Regions from separate parts of the Homo sapiens genome. Here regions 1 and 2 are each linked to region 3. Evidence: promoter capture Hi-C in 16 types of primary human blood cells and fetal thymus (Javierre and others, 2016). All regions are on one chromosome and are shown on one strand. Each heading gives the region's core, a stretch centred on a gene start or on the middle of the fragment in contact. The rest is flanking DNA. Distances are from core to core; before and after follow the strand shown.

Region 1 (3,511 bases), core at 630-3,129, 82 kb after region 3:
AACTGCAATTCTGTTCCCAAGGGAAAAGGGAGAGTAGACAGGAAGGGCAGCCAGCAGTCTTGGTTACTTGTGTCACTTATATTTAGTGGCTTCCACAATGTGTACTCCTCTGTGCTTAATTCCAACAGAGCACTTTCATCCTTACGCTGTGGGATCCCATGCTTGCCCGCTCTAACCTACAGAGCGTGTCTTCTCTGGATGGGAGAGTGAAGAGTGGAGGGGAAACAAAGGCGTGAGCTTCTTTTTCCTGAATATCTTCTCACCATGAGCAGGCAACACATTAAGAATATGCTGGTCTCAAGGGCTCCTTTCTCCAGGATGGACACAGAGGGTTGCCCAGACTTCAAGCAGGAAGGCGTGGCCACTGCCTTCCACTGCCAAGATGTCTCTTTCTTTCTTTCTCTTTCTTTCTTCCTTTCTTTCTCTCTTTCTTTTTCTTTCTTTCTCTTTCTTTCTTCTTTCTTTTCTTTCTTTTCCTTCCTCCCTCCCTCCCTTCTTTCTTTCTTTCTTTTTCTCTCTCTTTCCTCCCTCCCTCCCTCTCTCTCTCCCCTCCCTCCCTCTCTCTCTTTCTTTCCACCCTCCCTCCCTCCCTCTCTTCCCTCCCTCCCTCCTTCTTTCTTTCTTTCCTTCCTTCCTCCCTCCCTCCCTCCCTTCCTTCCTTCTTTCCTTCTTTCTTTCTTTCCCTCCCTCCCTCCCTCCCTTTCCCTCCCTCCTTCCCTCCCTCCCTGCTTTCTTTCTTTCTTTTCCTTCCTTCCTTCCTTCCTTTCTTTCACGGAGTCTCACTCTGTCGCCCAGGCTGGAGTGCACTGGTGTGATCTCAGCTGGCTCACTGCAACCTCCACATCCTGGGTTCTCTGCCTCAGCCTCCAGAGTAGCTGGGATTACAGGTGCCCGCCACCATGCCTGGCTAATTTTTGTATTTTTAGTACAGATGGGGTTTCACCATCTCGGCCAGGCTGTTCTTGAACCCCTAACCTTGTGATCCACCCGCTTTGGCCTCCCAGAGTGCTGGGATTACAGGAATGAGCTACCGCGCCCGGCTGATGTCTCATATTTCTAATAGACTGTTTTCTGAGGGTTGATAGGGTTCAGGAGAGAGAGATGCGTTTCTCTTAAACGAGACAAATGAATGCCTGCAGGAATTAGGGCTCTCTACGAATCAGCGAGTTGGCTGCTGGGCTGCTGAGAACATGCCCTGGACTGGGGAAGCATCAAGTTTCAAAGCCCCCTACCCGCCATAGCTGAGTCCTCATGATCTTGGCCTCATCCTAGAAAATCATGACATTCTATTTGTTTCCTATTGTTGCTATAACAAAGGAACACAAATTTAGTAGCTTAAGACGGCTCAACTGCATTGTCTTAGGGTTCTGGAGATGAGAAAGGCCCCCAGGGCTGTGCTCCTTCTGAGGCTCTAAAAAAGAATCCATTGCCCAGCATTGTCCGGCTTCTAGAGGCCATCCACATTCTTTGGGTTGTGTCTCCTTCGCGCATCCTCAAAGCAAGCTGCACGGCATCTTCACATCCCTCTCCCTCTGTTCTCTGACCTCCGCTTCCATTGTGACATCTCCCACTCTGACTCTGAGCCTCCCTCTTATAAGGATCCTGTGATGACATTGGGCCCAGCCCCACAATCCAGGACAATCTACTTCAAGACCCTTAATTTAATCCCATCTACAATGTCCCCTTTGCCATGTAAGGTGCCGTACCCACATGTTCTAGGGCCCAGGACATGGACATCTTTGGGGGTCATTATTCTGCAGATTGCAGAGATGTTGTGGGGATTCCCCTCAATTTCTCCTTACTCCTCATTCACTCCTTCACTTTAGCCATTTAAAATAATTAGTCCCCAACAAGGCCCATCTGACCAAGGGCTGTCCGCCTGGGGTGCCAACTGTGAGAAGGGATGTGGGGAGCAAGTGAGGGGAGCAAACTGGGACCCACAGAGGGGCCTCCATGTCTGAACAGCTGGCAGCAGGACAGACTTCCCTGCAGCCAGTGCTCAGGTCCTGACCTGGAGGGAGGCTTCAGCTCCCACCTCCATCCTTTCCCTCTTTGTACAAGCCCAGAGGGAGGGAACCATTCCTCTGCCTCAGTCACAATCTGACAAAGCAGGACCGTTGTGCAACTTAAATGCTCCAGGCTGGGCTTTGGGGTCTGCCAAAAGCACAGCTGACATTCTTTCATTGTTGCAGGGCAGACAGTGGCAACAGGGACACAAGGGCATCTGCCTTCAGCTCATGTTGCCCTTCTCTCGTGGGAAACACAGAACCAGCGGAGCCTTTTTAATGTTCAGTCTTGAGCTGTTCACAGTGGCCCAGCTTGTTCCAATTTCCGGGTCCTGAGCCACAGGCTAAGGGTATGGATGTTGAGTATCTCCCATCCCCTGCCCTGTCTGAGACCATGTGAGGAACCTTTTAGGCCACACCTGTCCTCCGGTCCCATGATGATGTTCCTAGCGTTTCACATATGCTGCAAGTTGCCTCAATTATGTGGGGGCTGGTCCATCTTTCACTTGGGCTTCACAGCCTTCGCCCTCCCTGGTTTCAGACCCTCATCTTCAGGTGTGTAGCAAGACTGGTGTCTGCATCCTACAGCCCATAGCTTTCCTGATTCAAAATGTTAAACCACACTTCCCCAGGCTCTCACTGCAGCCTCCCATCCAGTCCAGACTGTGGCTGCTCAAAGTGTGGTCCCCGGACCAGCAGCCTTAGCATCTCTGGAGAGCTGGTTAGAAAGTCCACAACTTTAGGTCCATGCCAGACTTGCTGAATTCTAATCTTCATTTTACCAAAAGCCCCAGGTGGCATTTGTGCAAATTCAAGCACGAGAATCACGGCCTGGCTTTAGGAAACCATGCCATCTCCCAGAGTCGTACTTTCCTTGTCTGTAAAATGAGCAGTTGGATCAAAGGTGCCCTGAGTTTCCCCCTCTGTGGTGTCTTATGGCTCCTGTATGTGGCTCCACCTTTTGTAAAGTGTTTAACAAGAAACCGGCTCCATGAGCCTCACAAACCAAAGACTGAACAATAATCACATCAGTGGCTGAGTTGTTAAACTTCTAAATAGAATCTGACTTGTATGCTATACGATGTGTGACCGTAGTGAGTGACTTGGACATTTCTGGGGACTGCCCCACCCTTCTTGTGGGCCTAAGCCACAAGCCACATTCACACCTGAGTGTGAGGAGGCAACAGCCTCCTCAGGGTCTCTGCCTCTGCCTTCAACAAGCAGCGGAGAGCTCTTTGCAGAGCCCACACGGACAGAGCCTGAGTCCCTCCACCAGACCCTCCCCCACCTGCTGCCCCTTCTCACTTGCCCTTGCCTCCAGCAGCCTGGCCTTGGCTGGCCTTTGACCTCAGGTCCTCGGGCCTTTGCAGGTCATCCTGTGGGCCTGAGACATTGCCCCATAGCCCCAGCCTAGTCTGCTCTCCCAGCCCCCTCAGGTCTCTGCTCAAATGACACCATCTGCAGAGGCCTCTCTGGAGCAACTTATTTGATGCTGACACTTGCTT
Region 2 (3,505 bases), core at 347-2,846, 130 kb before region 3:
GACCTGGTCCTCCTAGTGACTCCCTCTGTGTGGTGTACCCCACTGGTCCGCCAAGCAGCCCCTGCCCCCCACCACTCCCACATTCATTACAGTCACACCTCTCTTACTAGATTTATTAATGTGCAGTCACAAAAGAATTGGCAAGTTCCATTCATTACTTGACGTCTAAATATCTGGTACCCAAGCTGGTGGCTTAGTTTAGTGACAGGATCTGAAAGGGGCCATACCAAAATGAACCCGAAATCTAAAGATAGAAACATTTCATTCGCAAACTTGAGTAACAGATCTGAAAGTCAAACTAAACAACCTGAGTTACTGACACTTCAGAGCAGACCTGAGAATAAATGATTAATTTACAAATTGCTGCCTCCTCTCCCATCGGGAAACTCTGCTCTTTCTGTAAAAATGTCCTCATGAGCACTTATCTATGTAAATACGGTTGGCCCCTGCTAAGTAAGGGGGTAGGGGGTTGGGGGACATATAAACTAAGAAGGGGAATTCCATGATTTAACTTTCGGAAACTCCTGAAAAAAAGTTTTCGTTTTGTTTCTTGTTTGTTTTGCTCTGGATTAATCAGTGAGAGAATCATAAACACAGACTTACCTCGGCATGAAATACCTTGACCGTCAATAATTTGTTTGCAAACTCCACACACTTTGGATTTTTTAAAGGCCTTGTTCTTAAAAGCGTGCAGACTCGAGGTTAATTCTTCCGGCTGAAAAAGTAAAGGAAGAAATTGTCAACGTTTCATCTCATAGTTTGTTTCTTTTTCCTTTTCATTTAAGGGAAATAATAAATCTAGTGGAATTGTAAAGAGCAAAAACAGGAATTTTACCAAGCAAACAGAGAACAAGAAACCATCTTGGTGATGCTAAAATTCCCAAGACGACCCACGGATACCATGTTAGCATTCCCAATTCCAGAGTCCTAGACGGACGTTCACTCTCACCCAACTCATCAATCACCACATGGGGTGCCTAGAAACATTACATCAACCAACATCATTATGTGAAAATGCACTCCCTTCCAGACTTCAGCCGTAGAGCCACCTACTTCTGTGACAAAGTAATCCACATACACTTCTAGACTCTCAACCCTTTTTCTTCTGGAAAAAGTAATTAGCTAAACAGCATAATTATGTTATGAGGAAGTCAACTGGCTTTCCTGGTTCAAAGGTGTTCCAGAATCACCATTAAGCTCTTGAGCCTCTCTGAGCTCTCCTGCAGAAGAAGAGACAGTCCAGCCTGTGATACACATGTGGTTCTTCCTCAAACACAATTACAAGCATTAGCACTTGGAAAAACTAACCACTCAGCTACCTATTCATGTTTGTAGAGCCAAGGCTCTCAGCTATATGATAACCTTATAAGAATTCAATTTGCTTTTAGAGTCAAGCACTAATCATGTCTATTTGCTGATATGTGACCGTGTATTCTATCAGTACTTAATATCCATATGGATTCAGTGAGGCCATTACTCACCCACTGGAATAATTAAATTTATTTGAAAAGATGAAATGGTATTTAGAATGTGGAATAAATGGTACAACTACTTTAGAAAATGGTTTGACAATTTCTTATAAACTTAAACATACACCTAACCTATGACTCAGCAATTCCATTCTTATTTACACTAAAGAGAAATAAAAGCCTATGTCCACAAGAGAAAGAAAGGTCATAACAGCTTTATATAACCCAAATGTCCATCATAATAACTATTCTATATGCTAGAAAGTTAAGTAGAGATCTGAAAAACATAAAAAGATCCAAATCAAACATTCATTGAGGAAAATGTAAGAATACAGTGCAAGATACACTGGATGCGATTACTGGCAGATTAGATCCTGCAGAAGCACAGGTGAATGAACTTGAAGACATCACAGTACGAACCTCCCAACGCAAAGCACACAGAGATGAGACAACCTAAATAAACAAATAAACAAGCATCAGTAAGCTGTGGGAGAACTTTAACCAACATAACATATGTGTAATGGAGACTGACGGAGAAGGGCAGGGAAGGGGGGATATTTGAAAAAATAATGGCTGAAACTTTTTCAAACCAGGAGGAAAACTATAAACCCACAGATCCAAGAAACTCAAGAAATTTCTTGGCCAGGCTCGGTGGCTCACACCTGTAATCCGAGCACTTTGGGAGGCAGAGGCGGGTGGATCACCTGAGGTCAGGAGTTCCAGACCAGCCTGGCCAACACGGTGAAACCCCGTGTCTACTAAAAATACAAAAAATTAGCCGGGCATGGTGGTGGTGCCTGTAATCCCAGCTACTCGGGAGGCTAAGGCAGGAAATCGCTTGAACCCAGGAGGTGGAGGTTGCAGTGAGCCGAGATCGCGCCATTGCACTCCAGCCTGGGCAACAAGAGTGAAACTCCATCTCAAAAAAAAAAAAAAAATATATATATATATATATATTTCTAGCACAAGAAATGTGACAGGAACTACCCCAAGGCATACAATAATCAAATTGCTTAAACCCAGTAACAAAGAGAAAGATCTTAAAAACAACCACGGGGCCAAAAGACACATTACATGCAGGGAACCAACCAATAGGATAACAGGTTTCTCATTGTTTTAAAAAATATAAGTGAGAAGACAGCAGTATAATAGGAAATACTGAAAGATGGACACAAAGAAGGGAACAGACACCAGGGCCTACTTGAGGGTGGAGGGTGGAAGGAGGGTGAAGATTGAAAAACTACCTATCGAGTACTACGCTTATTACCTGGAGGAGGAAATAATCTGTACACCAAACCCCCACAACACACAATTTACCTATATAATAAACCTGCACATGTACCCTGAATCTAAAAGTTAAAAAAATAAACAAAATAGAATAAAACAAAATACTGAAAGAAAACTTGTCAATCTAGAATCCTGTACCCAATAAAAATAGCTCTTCAAAATAAAAGTGAACCAAAAACTTCTTAAAATATGCAAAAAAAGATATACAATTAAAGCCCAAAAAAAATCATCACCAGCTGACACCTATGACATATTAAAGACAGTGCTTGGGCAAAAAGGACATGGCAGATGGAATTATGGCTTTACACCAACAGATGAAGAGCACCAGAAATGCTAATTACACAGGTAAATTTATGAGTTTTTCTTATTATTTAAAGCTCACCAAAAGATAATTAACTGTTTAAACAATAGTGTAATGTGACATGTGACATATGTAAAAGTAAATTTTCTGAAAAAATAGCACAAAGTTCAGGAAAGAAGAAAAGGAAATATACTATTGATGACAGCGGTTGCTACCATCACGCTGGCTGCAGCAGGGAGGTGAGGCTGGGGCTGCACTCTCCATGGAGCCGGTGGGAGCTCCACCCCTTCTGAGTTGGGGTGGGAACTCCCTGGGTGCCACTGCAGCTGCCCAAACTGCAGCTGTAGATCCAAGCCTCCCTGCGCTCTTGAGTGGGGCCAGGAGCAGGCAGGATCTGCCCCCCGGGGTGCAGCTGCAGCCACCATCCACGGCTGCAGACCTGGGCCTC
Region 3 (3,228 bases), core at 618-3,117:
TTGTACTCCATAAGTTTGTACAAATAAAATGATAAAACTGAACCAGTTCTAAATCAGGTTAAATTGAACAAGAATATCAGGCATAGTCCATGGAAAACAACCCATACTTCTCTCTGATTCCATAATTTATTTTTTATTTCCAACTTCATGCCTCTCAGTCACGCCGGCCATCTCTATCATGTGCCTTGGACCCTCTGGCCTTGGGGCCCGAATGATGGCTTCAGCCCCTCTGGCCAGCAAGTCTGTCTGCTGCCTCTACTGGACACATGTACTGCCTAAAGCTGGGGACTTTCTTATCTGGTCCAGACCCCCAGTTCCTCTAACACACTCATTCCACAAATAGAGCCTCAGGCTCCTCCAGGCCCATGGCTACAGAGCCTTTCCTCTCCTAGAGTTTCTCTCCTTTTAGACTCACAAACTCTCTGCTTACCTGCAAGGTGACAGCCTCACTTGAGGAGGAGGAGCTGAGGTTCACTAGGTGGGAGCTGGCCCAAGTCAGTTTAGCTCAGAGGTCGGAGTCTTTGTAAGATGCAGAATGAAAATGAAGTGTTACGACCTCAACCTCCCTCTCCCATCACCCGCTGGGCAAATGCCAATGTCACATCCTTTAAACTGACTTCCTGCCTCCTAGGTCTCTGCCCTGCCTGGTTTAGATCGAAGTGATTAACCTTCTCCCGGGAGCTCGGGGAGGGAAGTCTGGCTGAGCCCTCTTGCCCTTCAGTTCTGCTGTCCTCCTCTACCCAGGTGGGTATTTGACAAGTTTGTGGATTTCAAGCAAAATGTATCTAAAATACATTGTCTTACAGTATGAACTAGAGGAAACAGTGTTTGAATGTTATCTGTTTCTTTTGGAACCAAATCATTGGGTTGGATGATTTATTAAGAAGTGAATCATCCGGGCCGGTGGCTCACGCATGTAATCCCAGCACTTTGGTAGGCCGAGGTGGGCTGACCACTTGAAGTTACAGGTTCGAGACCAGGCTGGCCAACACAGTGAAACCCTTTCTCTACTAAAAATACCAAAAACTTAGCTGGGTGTCCTGGCACACACCTGTAATCCCAGCTACTCAGGAGGCTGAGACACAAGAATTGCTTGAACCTGGGAGGTGGAGGTTGCAATGAGCCGAGATCACACCACTGTACTCCAGCCTGGGCAACAGAGCGAGACTCCTTTGTCTTGAAAAAAAAAAAAAAAATTAAAGTGTCCCAATCTGGGGGGAGGAACAGGGTCACTGCTATGAGAAAGCTAGAGATGGCCTAGGGTCCTTTCTAAAATTTCCTCTGATATTCCTCACACTTTCAAATGATTTCTCCTTTCTTCCCACTCCAGCCACAGACTGCTAGGAAGTACAGTATTTTTTCTTTTGGAAGAAAAAGTAAATGGGAAGGCACAGGATTTTTATTAATGCTGTTACTGATTTTAAAATAAGCTAAGAATGTGCCGTCAATCCAGTTGGCTGCTCCCTGCCGCCCACGGAGCCTGTAATCACTGCCTTACAGCTCACGAGAACAATGGCAACACAAGCAAACCACATCTGCATTTCCACATTCTGAGCAGCAGGTCCCTGAAATAGAGGCAGGGTACGGGAAATTATAGGACTTCAGTGAAACTGTAGGATTGCTGGGATTCCCACAGGCGCCCAGCCCTGGCTCGGGGAATATTTGAGTGTGGGAACTACCCTAGCATCTCTGCACTTACAGGAGAACCAGGGGATTCACCCGTCATGAGAGCAGAGCTCCTATACCCTGGCATCCTGCGCCCCAGGCACCCGAGGGATCCTGGGAAAACCCAAAGCTATGTGGCTAAAACTCCTGCTTTGGGGCTCAGGGTTCAGGGGGTACGCTAGACTCCTCTCCCCATTCGATTCTTGCATTTGGCAGACGAGTCACCCGGGCAGTGGGATGAGGATGGCACCAACAGAGTCAACAGAAGGAAGACGGCTCTGGCCGGGCCCCAGGGAGGGAGGCAGCGGTCAGGACAGTGGTCTTTGTGGGGCCTGGGAGGTGTGGATGCTGGGAGGGATGTGGGGGTGGTCCTGGATGACTGTTGTTCTTTCTGGACCTGGGAAGTGGTTACATGGGCGTGTCCACTTCATGATAATTTGATTTTTTGTCTTTTTTTAAAATGTTTGCTATCCATCAAAATTTGAAAAAGCTCCCAGGGCTTTGGTAACTCCCTGTGGGGCAGAGAGAGTCCACAGAATGTCAAGGCTGGATTTTCTGCCAGGCTGGAAGGAGGAGGGCTCAGGGTTGTATTTGATTTGTTTAGGAGATGGAAAGAAACTGGCCATGTCTTACACAAGGGAAAATAGTTGTTTTCCCAACATCTGGGGTCTCGAAGGCACTCGAGAAGTGATTACTTTGGGGGGTTTCTGCTTCTCCTGGCAGGCTGAGCTGTTCTGGCTGGGAGGCCTCACTTGTCTCCCCGTCCACACTGCTGGCCCGTGGGGTCTCGCGATGGCTGATGCTGATGTATGGGAAAGCCACGCACCCCAAGAGACTCCATCCTCCCAGTAAGCACTCCATGGAGGAAAGAGAGAGGTGGTAATCAATAAACTTGAGTCATTATTGATATTAGTTGTATTGAACATTTACCACGTGGCAAGCAGGGGTGCCGGGGAAAAAACGACTAAAACCTGGGAGGAAGTTTTTTTTTTTCTTTTGAGACGGAGTCTCGCTCTGTAGCCCAGGCTGGAGTGCAGCGGCGCGATCTCGGCTCACTGCAACCTCCGCCTCCCGGGTTCACACCATTCTCCTGCCTCAGCCTCCCGAGTAGCTGGGACTACAGGTGCCCACCACCACGCCCGGCTAATTTTTTGTATTTTTAGTAGAGATGGGGTTTCATCGTGTTAGCCAGGATGGTCTCGATCTCCTGACCTCATGATCCGCCCGCCTCGGCCTCCCAAAGTGCCGGGATTACAGGCGTGAGCCACCGCGTCCGGCCAAGGAAGGTATTTTTATTGGCCACAATTAACAGATGAAAAAGGCGAAGATCCAGGTGTGTTTGGAACTTGGGCCAGGTTAGGGGGTTACACAGGCTCAAGAACTGCCTTTCACTTGTTTAGATTCAGTCAAGACCAGAACAAAGAGAAACACGGAGATTTCTGTCCAGGAGTGGGCCTTCAGGGACTGCATAGCTTCTCAGTGCTCGACTTGCGTGATGGGATAAGTGCTCTTAGAGCTCACTCACCCCTTCTGTCATGTGAAGACACAGGGAGATGGCATCAT

Evidence for each region. The method cuts DNA at HindIII sites, captures the fragments that hold promoters and counts their contacts. A CHiCAGO score of 5 or more calls a contact.
Region 1: a fragment that was not itself captured here is called in contact with the fragment with the promoter of LINC02902 in region 3 in 4 of 17 cell types (total B cells, naive B cells, M1 macrophages and 1 more); the score reaches 23.3 in total B cells.
Region 2: a fragment that was not itself captured here is called in contact with the fragment with the promoter of LINC02902 in region 3 in 4 of 17 cell types (total B cells, naive B cells, M1 macrophages and 1 more); the score reaches 17.2 in total B cells.

What each region holds. Positions count from the first base shown.
Region 1 is chr7:47,735,631-47,739,141 of GRCh38, forward strand. No RefSeq gene overlaps it. Among named protein-coding and RNA genes, the nearest start is that of LINC00525, 24 kb to the right of the region's middle. The HindIII fragment of the contact is 4,204 bases long and covers 1-3,511 here.
Region 2 is chr7:47,528,433-47,531,937 of GRCh38, forward strand. TNS3 (tensin 3) reads right to left here. Exons shown (of 31, transcript NM_022748.12): 2 at 604-715. Among named protein-coding and RNA genes, the nearest start is that of TNS3, 52 kb to the right of the region's middle. The HindIII fragment of the contact is 5,206 bases long and covers 1-3,505 here.
Region 3 is chr7:47,653,377-47,656,604 of GRCh38, forward strand. LINC02902 (long intergenic non-protein coding RNA 2902) reads left to right here and starts at 1,868. Exons shown (of 3, transcript NR_171030.1): 1 at 1,868-1,972. The HindIII fragment of the contact is 4,908 bases long and covers 1-3,228 here.